Regions from separate parts of the Homo sapiens genome. Here all the other regions are linked to region 1. The links are contacts of gene promoters, found by promoter capture Hi-C in blood cells and fetal thymus (Javierre and others, 2016). All regions are on one chromosome and are shown on one strand. The core of a region is centred on a gene start or on the middle of the fragment in contact, and the rest is flanking DNA. Distances in the headings are between cores, read along the strand shown.

The links. The method cuts DNA at HindIII sites, captures the fragments that hold promoters and counts their contacts. A CHiCAGO score of 5 or more calls a contact.
Region 2: a contact is called between a fragment that was not itself captured here and the fragment with the promoter of FAM210A in region 1, in 5 of 17 cell types (fetal thymus, activated CD4 T cells, naive CD8 T cells and 2 more). The highest score is 6.9, in fetal thymus.
Region 3: a fragment that was not itself captured here is called in contact with the fragment with the promoter of FAM210A in region 1 in 2 of 17 cell types (activated CD4 T cells and naive CD8 T cells); the score reaches 6.4 in activated CD4 T cells.

The regions. Positions count from the first base shown.
Region 1 is chr18:13,724,668-13,728,105 of GRCh38, reverse strand. It overlaps FAM210A (family with sequence similarity 210 member A), which reads left to right and starts at 1,548. Exons shown (of 4, transcript NM_152352.4): 1 at 1,548-1,777. RNMT (RNA guanine-7 methyltransferase) reads right to left here and starts at 1,433. Exons shown (of 12, transcript NM_003799.3): 1 at 1,377-1,433. RefSeq lists an enhancer at 1,445-2,370. The HindIII fragment of the contact is 3,253 bases long and covers 1-1,554 here.
Region 2 is chr18:12,694,421-12,697,858 of GRCh38, reverse strand. CEP76 (centrosomal protein 76) reads left to right here. Exons shown (of 12, transcript NM_024899.4): 5 at 451-636; 6 at 2,508-2,605. It also overlaps a transcript of PSMG2 not described here. Among named protein-coding and RNA genes, the nearest start is that of CEP76, 6.6 kb to the left of the region's middle. The HindIII fragment of the contact is 2,884 bases long and covers 362-3,245 here.
Region 3 is chr18:12,710,628-12,714,065 of GRCh38, reverse strand. It overlaps PSMG2 (proteasome assembly chaperone 2), which reads right to left. Exons shown (of 7, transcript NM_020232.5): 3 at 1,306-1,364. Among named protein-coding and RNA genes, the nearest start is that of PSMG2, 9.3 kb to the right of the region's middle. The HindIII fragment of the contact is 2,277 bases long and covers 441-2,717 here.

The DNA.
Region 1 (3,438 bases), core at 299-2,798:
AGTTTTGCAAATCTGGGTACAGATCCAAAAGAAGGGAAATCAGTATATCTAAGAAATATCTGCAGTCTCAAGTTTATTCACAATAGTCAAGATATGGAATCAACCTAAGCGTTCATCAACAGATGAATAAAGATAATGTAGCATATATACACAATGGAATATTAGTCATTAAAAAGAATGAAATCCTGTCATTTGCAACAACATGGATGAAACCGGATGTCATTATGTTAACTGAAATAAGCCAGGCACATGAAGACAATATCATGTTGTTACTCATGTGGGAGCTAAAAATGTGGACCTGATGGAGGTAAAGAGTGGATTGGTGGTTACCACAGACTGGGAAGGGTAGCAGGAAGAGGAGCGGGATGAAGAAGAGAAATTGGTTAATGGGTACAAAAAACCCCAGAAGAAATAAAATCTAGTGCCTGATAGTACAGTGGGGTGGACACAGTTAACAATAACTTATTGTGTAGTTCAAAATAGCTAAAAGAAAAATTGGAATGTTCCCAACATAAAGATAAATGTTTGAGATGACAAATATCCCAATTGCCCTGATTTAGTCGTTACACATTGTATGCATGTATCAAAGTATCACCTGCACCTGCAAATATGTGCAACTTCTATGTATCAATTTAACAAATTGGGGGAAAAAAAACCCAAACCAAACTCAAAGTGGAATAATGAAAACACTCCATAGGGAAGAGAGCTGTCCCTCAGAATCTTCAAGAAACCTTCGAAAGGTGGTCGACTGACATGGAGATGGACACGCGATAAATAACCACACGAACATTTCGACCCGGCTTTCCAGTCACACCTCCGAAGCAAGCTATGTCTCTGCGTCATTTCAGCTCCTCAGGGTACGAGCGAGCAGGCCGCCAGGGCCGCCGGGATAAAGCCCAAGCGGGATAAGCTCTAAGTCCCGACCCGCCCGCTTGACCCTCTACCACGGGGCCCGAGAGGACGCACAGAGGCGAGAAGGGACTTCTCCAGCCAAGTTCACCCCCTCCGTCATTAGCGCGGCCTGTTACTCAACCTCTGGTTCAGGTTTCCGAAGCGCCGCTGAAGACAAACCTGCGGACCCCACGCCCCTCCCCAGCACGGCCCTGGGGCGCGAGCTGGAGCAGCTCTTCGAGCTGCTTCTCCCACCCGGGCTCGCCCAGTCTGGAGGAGGAACAGCGCCCGCCCACCCCAAGGAGTTCCCATTTTCCTTGGGACTGAGGACACAAGGCAATAGACCCACGCGTTGGGTAGTGAAGCACAGGGCTAATGCGAAGTGAGCCCATGTCAGGGGTGGGAGTGCCAGTTCCACCCCTCCACGGCGGCCGAGGGACAAACACAAAGAAAGGAAGGGCCGGAGTTCCAGCCGTCACACTCACCAGCACAGCCAAACGCGATTCTGTTTGCGGAAACGGCGGCCCGCGCCACGCGTGTCTGCTTACGTCACTTCCGGAGGTGCGAGAGTCACGTGGAGACGGTCAGGCGAGAGTGCCGCGACGCACGTCCTCCGCGCCGGAACTACGAGTCCCGACGTGCCGCGCGCGGCATGCAGAAGCTTCACTGAGCGGGCACTGGAGGTCGCGAGCACGTTGCTAGTGGGCGCGGCTGGCGGGGCCGGGGGCGGCAGGGGGCTAGCGTCCGGCTGAGCCCGGCGGGTTCCTGCACGCGGACCCACGCTTTGTCGGGCTGCTCTGCTGAGTGACACCGCCGTGGCATCCGAGGAGCTGTGGTCCAGCCTGCGCGGCGGGAAGCGGCGGCGGCGGCTCCAGCGTCCTAAGAGGTAGCATGGGCCCAGGCCTCTGTGGGGCAGCGGGAGGGGTCTAGAGGGCACCTTCAACCCTGGGCGTGTGTCCGGGAGCTGACTCGCGGCGCGAACCCGGCAACTGCTCCGCGTGCGCCGCTCTTCGGGCTGTGGCAGTGTACGACTGCCAGACGGGTCGTCCACACTCGCCGACCCCACAGACCCCGGCGGCCGAGAGAGGTCCCCCCGCCCTTCCGGGTCGAGCCAGTGTCCTGGCAAATCTTGCTTTGGGACTGTTTTTCAGCCTCCTTTGCTGTAACCCTTCACCGTGTTCTCCCCCCTTCTTCCGAAGCCAGTTGAAGAGGGGCCCGGAAGCGCCCGCGTTCGGAATGGTTTTTAAAATTAGCAATTTCTTATTAGGGACTGGCAGACTGGTCCTTACCGCCGTGTTTGGGAAGCCACAAGAGGCCATTCTTACCTGTTAGATTCTGAGAAAAGGGACCGCCTATACCTCTTCTTGACAAATACCTAAGGATGCATTAGTCTGCGTTGGCTGAACTTGGCATGGTGTGGTTTGGGGGAGACAACACACTTTTTTTGGCCATCACCCCAGATTTCTACTGGGGAGTGAAAGCGCCTACTGTACTGAAACTCGAAAGCTCCATAGTTGAGGACTTTCAACCTGAGATCAGGGTCAAAACTACCTGTGGATAGATTATTGAAGCGTGTGCATATTAACGTCGTGCGTCAAGTCCCCACCTTCCAAGGTTGTAAAACTGATCAGATTTACAATCCGTCTTGAATTACTCTTTACCAAAATTGATCCATTTAAAACAGCTTTGAAAATGTGCTTTACCAGCCTTCCTTCTTGTCAGTAGGCACAGGTATATTAATGAATAGACCTGGCTTTGGGGAAGGCAGCATTTGCAGCGTTGTGCTTTCCAATCTAATCACTTCTAAATTGTGGGCATTAGCCCATTTGAGGTTACAAACTTTGAACCAAGAATGAGGCCTATTTTTCACAAATAAGGATGACCCATCAATTTCTGATGACTGCTTGTATTTGTTATTATATGAAATGAGGTAAGTTGAGAATTAATCTCATTACATGAATATTGACAACTGCAAAAGTGTAGGTCTTACAGATCGAATGCATTATAGGCATATACAAGCATTAGAACCAGGCAATTACATTCCCTGTTCCTGATGCTTAAGTTTCTTGAGATAATTGCTGTTGTAATTTTACAGAAAATGAGTGTAATTTTGACTTTTAAAAACATGTTTTAATGTTTTTAAACACCGGGTGCAGTGGCTCACTTCTGTAATCCCAGCCGTTGGGAGGCCGAGGCGGTTGGATCACGAGGTCAGGAGTTTGAGACCAGCCTGGCCAACATGGTGAAACCCCGTCTCTACTAAAAATACAAAAATTAGCCAGGCGTGGTGGCGCGTGCCTGTAATCCCAGCTACTCAGGAGGCTGAGGCAGGAGAATCGCTTAAACCCGGAAGGCGGAGGTTGCAGTGAGCCGAGATTGCGCCGTTGCACTCTAGCCTGGGCGACAGAGCGAGACTGTCTCAAAAAAAACTAAACAAAACAAAAAAAGTTATTAGATTAAAAGCCTCTTAACTATGTGTTTATGAAAACTCCACGATGATGGGATATATAGAGATTACATTTTTCAGTTTTTATAAAACTTAACTAG
Region 2 (3,438 bases), core at 554-3,053, 1.0 Mb after region 1:
ATAAGGCAATTAATAGGATAAATTGCTAGATTCGATGTGCTGTATTTTTCAGTTGTATGTCAATTATACAGTGATAATTTCTGGAGGTTAAAGGGATTTCTTGAGGTAGTTTGGGGATTAATATTGACATACTTGAAGGCTTTTTATTGTAGTAGCATATACTTTAGTTAAGTACTTTTAAAGAACAGACTTATCTTATGAATCAGAAAGCACTGATATGCTGTAAGTTACTGGATAACTCATCACAATTTGCCAGTCTTCTGAAAAGTTAGTGATAGAAATAGGACTGTACTTGTATTTCCAGTTTTTTGCATGCTTTCTGAGACATTAGCAAATTGTTCTCTTTGGTTTTATATAAGCTTATTATTTACTGTTTAATAAAAGTATTCTTTTATGTTGGCCTAACTGAATATGTAGTGTGGTATAATTTCGTTTGGATTATATTGCTAGGTGATGGAACTAGAATGGCTGATTCAACAACAATGTTATCAATAAGTGATCCAATTCATATGGTGCTAATCAAAACAGACATATTTGGTGAGACGACTTTAGTAGCATCATATTTTCTGGAATGGCGATCGGTTTTGGGCTCAGAAAATGGAGTGACCAGTCTGACTGTGGAACTTATGGGTGTAGGTATGGTGATTAATATATCATTGTTAACCTTTTTATAGCCACAGTTCATTTGTAAATATATTTTATATCTTTAAAATGCTTTTATAATCCAAGAGGGAAACCTGTAAAATAGAATTTCGTTAGAGTTACAATTGGACCTCAGCATCCTAATCTTGAGAAATGTCTTGAAGAATAATATCAGTATAGCACTTCATGGTCAATCTGACCTTGTCTTAGGAGAAATGTTTTTTTCTGGAAAATGAATACAGGAATTTTGAGGGTTTTAATTTCAAGTTCATTTGATTAAATATAAGGCTATAAAGAAAATTAATATTCTTGACACACATACAAACTTATGTGTGTCCAGTCATCACACCCTGGAATACATCCCCTTTGGTACCAGTGATTCTTGCAAAATACAGAGTAGATGTTCTCCCAACCTTTTACAGTGTGGGTGAGTGAGACTCGGAAGAGGAAATAATTTGCTCAGTGTTAGTATCAACTAGTCCTTGAGGGCAGAGCTGGTGCCTATCTTATTTATCATAGTCTCCTTGGAATCTTGCACACTGCCCGCTATGTAACACATACTTGCTAATAAAATGAGAAAACAAAACCTACCAATGTTTTATCTATAACATATAATGGAATTACTTTGGTTTTTAAACTTAGTCACAGAGTTAAACCTTGCCAGTGGACAGCATAGCCTTAGTAATTTAGATTATTATTATTATTATTATTATTTGAGATGGAGTCTCGCTCTGTCACCAGGCTGGAGTGCAGTGCTGCAATCTCGGCTCACTGCAACCCCCGCCTCCTGGGTTCAAGCGATTATACTGGCTCAGCCTGCTAAGTAGCTGGGACTACAGGCATGCACCACCACACCCAGCTAATTTTTGTATTTTTAGTAGAGATGGGGTTTCACCATGTTGGCCGGGATGGTCTCGATCTCTTGACCTCGTGATCTGCCCGCCTCGGCCTCCCAAAGTGCTGGGATATTGGCGTGAGTCACCGCGCCCAGCCAGTAATTTAGATTTTAATAAGTCATACCAAGAATGTATTTTTCTTTAAATAAAAATTATAGAAAAAGTGTCCTTTATGTAAGAAATTTATTTTCAAAAACAATACCCAATTTGTCTTCAAAAATAGGCCTAACATGATAATCGTAGCAGTGACCTGGAAACAAGCAGATTCTGATTCACTGAAGAAACATTAAATCGTTTTGATGTGAAGTATATTTGTTTTCTAGTTCTTTAAATCCAGGCATGGATTGAAAATTTCTACTCAGCCTGTAATTGGATAATGGGGAGTGACAAATGGGAGTTACTATAAGTGACAATATAAATGCTTTCTAATTTTTAGTGTGTGTGTGTGTGTGTGTGTGTGTGTGTGTGGAGAAGGAATGAGGTGTTAACAGTTGCTTTGACTTTGAATTTAATGTAAGTCTGGTTGATATTATACATTTAATTAAGACAAAAATTAAGAGTCTCAAATCCTTTAAGTCAGAAAAGTTTCTTAAAACCTGTTAGAAAAGCCAGGTGTAGTGGCTCATGCCTGTAATCCCACCAAGCACTTTGGAAGGCTGAGGCAGGAATATCACTTGAGCCCTGGAGTTTAAGACCAACCTGAATAACATAGGGAGACCCCATCTCTACTTAAAGAAGAAAAAGAGTGTCAGAAAGCTAAGAAAATAATCTCCTTATAATTAAACACCTTTGTTTAAAAAAATTGATTTGGTTCATTTTAATATGAATATTAAAGGTAATGTTGAATGTTATCTTTATTCCATGTAAGTGATAAAACACCCAAGTGCCTAAATTATTTTGGTTAGACTTTGGTTGACTAAATATATATAGTATTGAAATCTCTGAAGTTCAAAATATTTATGTTTATAGGCACAGAATCAAAAGTTTCTGTGGGAATTTTAAATATAAAACTTGAAATGTATCCACCACTCAATCAAACGTTATCTCAAGAAGTAGTGAACACACAGGTAAATACTTATGAGTTTCTCTTTTTTTGTGTGTTTGTTTTCATAGTAGTATATTTACCTGTTGATCCTAGAAAGCACTCTATTTTTAGAAAATTACCATTTATTACTTTCTAGATTAGCACTCAAAGGTTCACAAAAAGGATGAGGAAGAAAATAAAGACAAGATTGTTTTCCTAGCAGAATCTGTAGTCTAGTTTAGGAAATACGATGAACATTTATTGAGACAGCATAAGAATTACAGGATAGGCCGGTGGCTCACGCCTGTAGTCCCAGCACTTTGGGAGGCCGAGGCGGGCGGATCACAAGGTCAGGAGATCGTGACCATCCTGGCTAACACGGTGAAACCCCGCCTCTACTAAAAATACAAAAAAAAAAAATAGCCGGGCGTGGTGGCAGGCACCTGTAGTACCAGCTACCCGGGAGGCTGAGGCAGGAGAATGGCGTGAACCGGTAAGAGGAGCTTGCAGTGAGCCCAGATCGCACCAGTGCACTCCAGCCTGGGCAACAGAGCAAGACTCCATCTCAAAAAAAGAAAAAAAAAAAAAGAATTACAGGATAAAGCTGAAGAAGATCAAAGAGTAAAGTGCAACCTCAGTGGGATGGGATTTTAACGTTCTTTCGCAGGCGTTTATTGAAAGCTTGCTGCTTATGTCTTTTCTGCTCTGTTCTCTCAGGGTAGAAGTGCTTGCCACTTTTAGAGTGTGTTTGGAGAGGCTTTTTTCCCTAATTCCACTGTCAGGTCTCTGATGAATTACTTTCTTCCTGGGTCTTAAAAGATCGGCAGATTTTTTCATTCCTTCACATTGGATTTGCCATCCATGTTTAGTTCTTGC
Region 3 (3,438 bases), core at 330-2,829, 1.0 Mb after region 1:
TAACAAATTCTTGAGTTTGGACTGGGCGTGGCTTACACCTGTAATCCCAGCATTTGAAAGGCCAAGGTGGGTGGATCACTTGAGGGCAGGAGTTGGAGACCAGCCTGGCCAACATGGCAAAACCCCGTCTCTACTAAAAATACAAAAATTAGCCAGTGTGGTGGCGTGTCCCTGTAATCCCAGAGGCTGAGGCAGGAGGATCACTTGAACCCAGGACGGCAGAGGCTGCAGTGAGTTGAGATCACATCAGTGCACTTAAGCCTGGGCATCAGAGGAGACTGTCTCAAAAAAAAAAAAAGAAAGAAATTATTGAGTTTGCAGGGTAGCAGATAAGAAACTACTTGGTAAAATACTGAAACTTCCTCCCCTTATGGGATAAAAGAACTGGCTGAAATTGGTTGGAACCAATATGGCCAAGTAGAGTCTGCAGAGAACAAGCTTCCTGGTGTCGCAAGCTGACTCTCCATCACGTTTCATACTCATTCCCCTGAATTGGCACATGAGCCCTATGAGTTAGCATGAGGAGATAACTGTGCATGCCCAAGGACCTTCCAGATGTCCCCTTTCCTTCCATCGCTCACCTACTGATCTCAGAATCCACCCTCTGAACCTTTTCTAATAAAAACACTGCCTTGAAGTCAGCACAGGGAGGCAGATTTGAGGTCGACTCCTGTCTCCTTGGGAGTCAATTTGCAATATAAAGCCTTTCTTGTCTCAAAAACCTGGTGTCACAGTGCATCAGGAAGCGAGCCCCTTTTCCTGGATCACAATTTTGAGTGAGAGGAGAAGCCACTGGAGGGTTTCAAAGAGAGTAGTGATGTGGTGTACGTTTAGAGGATCATCAGTGCTGCTGTTTGTGGGAGGCAGATCAGCAAGTTAGTCAGGGGCATGAAGATGACACTGGTTTGCACTCAATGACAGCAGTGGAGGAGGAAAGAAGTCGGATTCAGAATATTTTATGACATATACATAATTTGATATATACATAGTTTATATGTAGATGCCACCAGCTGAAAGGTAATACAAATGGAATAAACCTCTAATATTAATATGCTTACATTTTTTCACCAATGCTACCCGAACTGAAAATATGTTAACACTCAAGATAAAAGCCCTGCTTCCTTTCTATATAATCATGAAAAGACAGTAACACATCTGAAATATTGTAAGATTATTTCTCTGTAGAATCAGATCTTAACTGTACATATGGTAAAAACAGTAGTAATTTTTGAATCTTAATCCCTAATGTTACTTATTTTCTCATTACACTTTAATAAACAAAAAGGCAAACTACAACATACTAACCTTAATAAAAATGGATCTTAACTGTAGAGCCACCAGCTTTCTTGAAGGCAATGAATACACTATAAAAACAAGAAGAAAATGAAATCATATGACAGTGAAGTTATACAAGTTGAAATTATTATGATAAACAAAAATTGAATTATAATACCTTTTGCATTTAAATGTTTTCAATAATTAAAATACGGAACATATATGACATCTGGTTAAAATAAGACCTTTTAGAAGTACCTTAAAATAAGCCAGTGGGCTTTATTCTATGGAACAGATTCATTTCTGAAAAGTTAACTGTAAGAAAATATAAAAAATTATTTTTCTTTTGACTTTAACTGCAAAACCAGAGAAGTATTCCCCTGAAAATTTCTGGTATTATGACAAATAAAATCATCCTTAAGAAAACTGAACTTTTTGGCTTTTGATATTCTCCCCTCTTTGTCTCCAGAGAACAGCAACACTCATTGGGATTAACAGAAAAAACAGTAAAAGGTAGGAGAATGTTAGCCATGTAATAAAATCCTGAAATAGGTACATGTGTGTTCCTTAGAACTTTTTAAAGGATCTGAAATAACATAAAATGTCATGTGAGTCAATGTGTTTGTATTTTTTACTGGGAAAAGGATCCATAGCTTTCATCAGGTTCTACAAGGGGCACACTCTAGAAATGCTTAAGGCTTCCCTGCCCAACTTCATTTCTAAGAATGAGAAGCAGCTGGGCATGGTGGCTCACGCCTGTAATCCCAGCACCTTGGGAGGCTGAGGCAGGTGGATCACAAGGTCAGGAGATCAAGATCATCCTAGCTAACATGGTGAATGAAACCCCGTCTCTACTAAAAAATAAAAAAATTAGCCAGGCTTGGCGGCGGGCACCTGTAGTCCTAGCTACTCAGGAGGCTGAGGCAGGAGAACGGCGTGAACCCGGGGGGCGGAGCTTGCAGTGAGCAGAGATCGCGCCACTGCACTCCAGCTTGGGCAACAGAACAAGACTCCATCTCAAAAAAAAAAAAAAAAAAAAAGAATGAGAAGCTCCTGAGTCAGGGATAAAATACTCTCTAAGGACACAGGATTACTACTGTGCTAAGGGGTAAGTGTTGGTTACCATAAACAGATTGCAAATAACAGCAAATCCTTTGGTGGATCAGGTCTCTACTGTTACAGGTCTTTCGGAAATTGTCTCCTATGGCTGGCGTGATGTGGTGTGACTGGGGGGTATGCTGAACTCAGCAAATCTAGCAAGCACCAGGTATGTTCAGTCCAAAGGAAGTTTAGGAATTAGGGAAAAGGGTATAAATTTAGGGAAAAGAGACTAAGGCAAAGATTACTCAGCCTCTAACCTATCTGTGACAAACACATGTAGTCCAATTCAACTGACCTAGGTTTGAAAAGAATGTATCTGTAGGGGGTGGACAGGCTAAGCTTTTTAAAATGTAAGCTACCACTTCTTCGGTGATAGCAATACTCTCCTCATCAGCGTATCATACAATTCTTTTTTTTTGAGACAGAGTCTCGCTCTGTCACCCAGGCTGAAGTGCAGTGGTGCGATATCGGCTCACTCCAACTTCTGCCTCCCAGGTTCAAGTGATTCTTGTGTGTCAGCCTCTCAAGTAGCTGGGATTACAGGAGCACACCACCACGCCTGGCTAATTTTTGTTTTTTGTTTGTTTTTTAAGACAGAGTCTTGCTCTATCACCCAGACTGGAGTACAATGGTGTGATCTCGGGTCACTGCAACCTCTACCTCCTGGGTTCAAGCGATTCTCCTGTCTCAGCCTCCTGAGTAGCTGGGATTTCAGATGCACACCGTCACAACGGGTTAATTTTTTGTATTTTAGTAGAGACAGAGTTTCATCATGTTACCCAGGCTGGTCTCGAACTCCTGAGCTCAGGCAATCCACCCGTCTTGGCCTCCCAAAGCGCTAGGATTACTAGCATGGGCCACCGTGCCCGGCCTATGCAATTCTTTTTGTTGTTAGGTTCCTGTTTCCTAGTACTTTTTTCTTCTGATGTGATACATTACGAAAGCAACAACACCTTTTCTGTATTCTGCCCCAAAACATTAACCTTTTATCTAATCAAGCCTTTAGAGCTAACTCCAGTTACAGAAAACACAGGGGCTAGAACAACAAGCCAAGTGACAAGA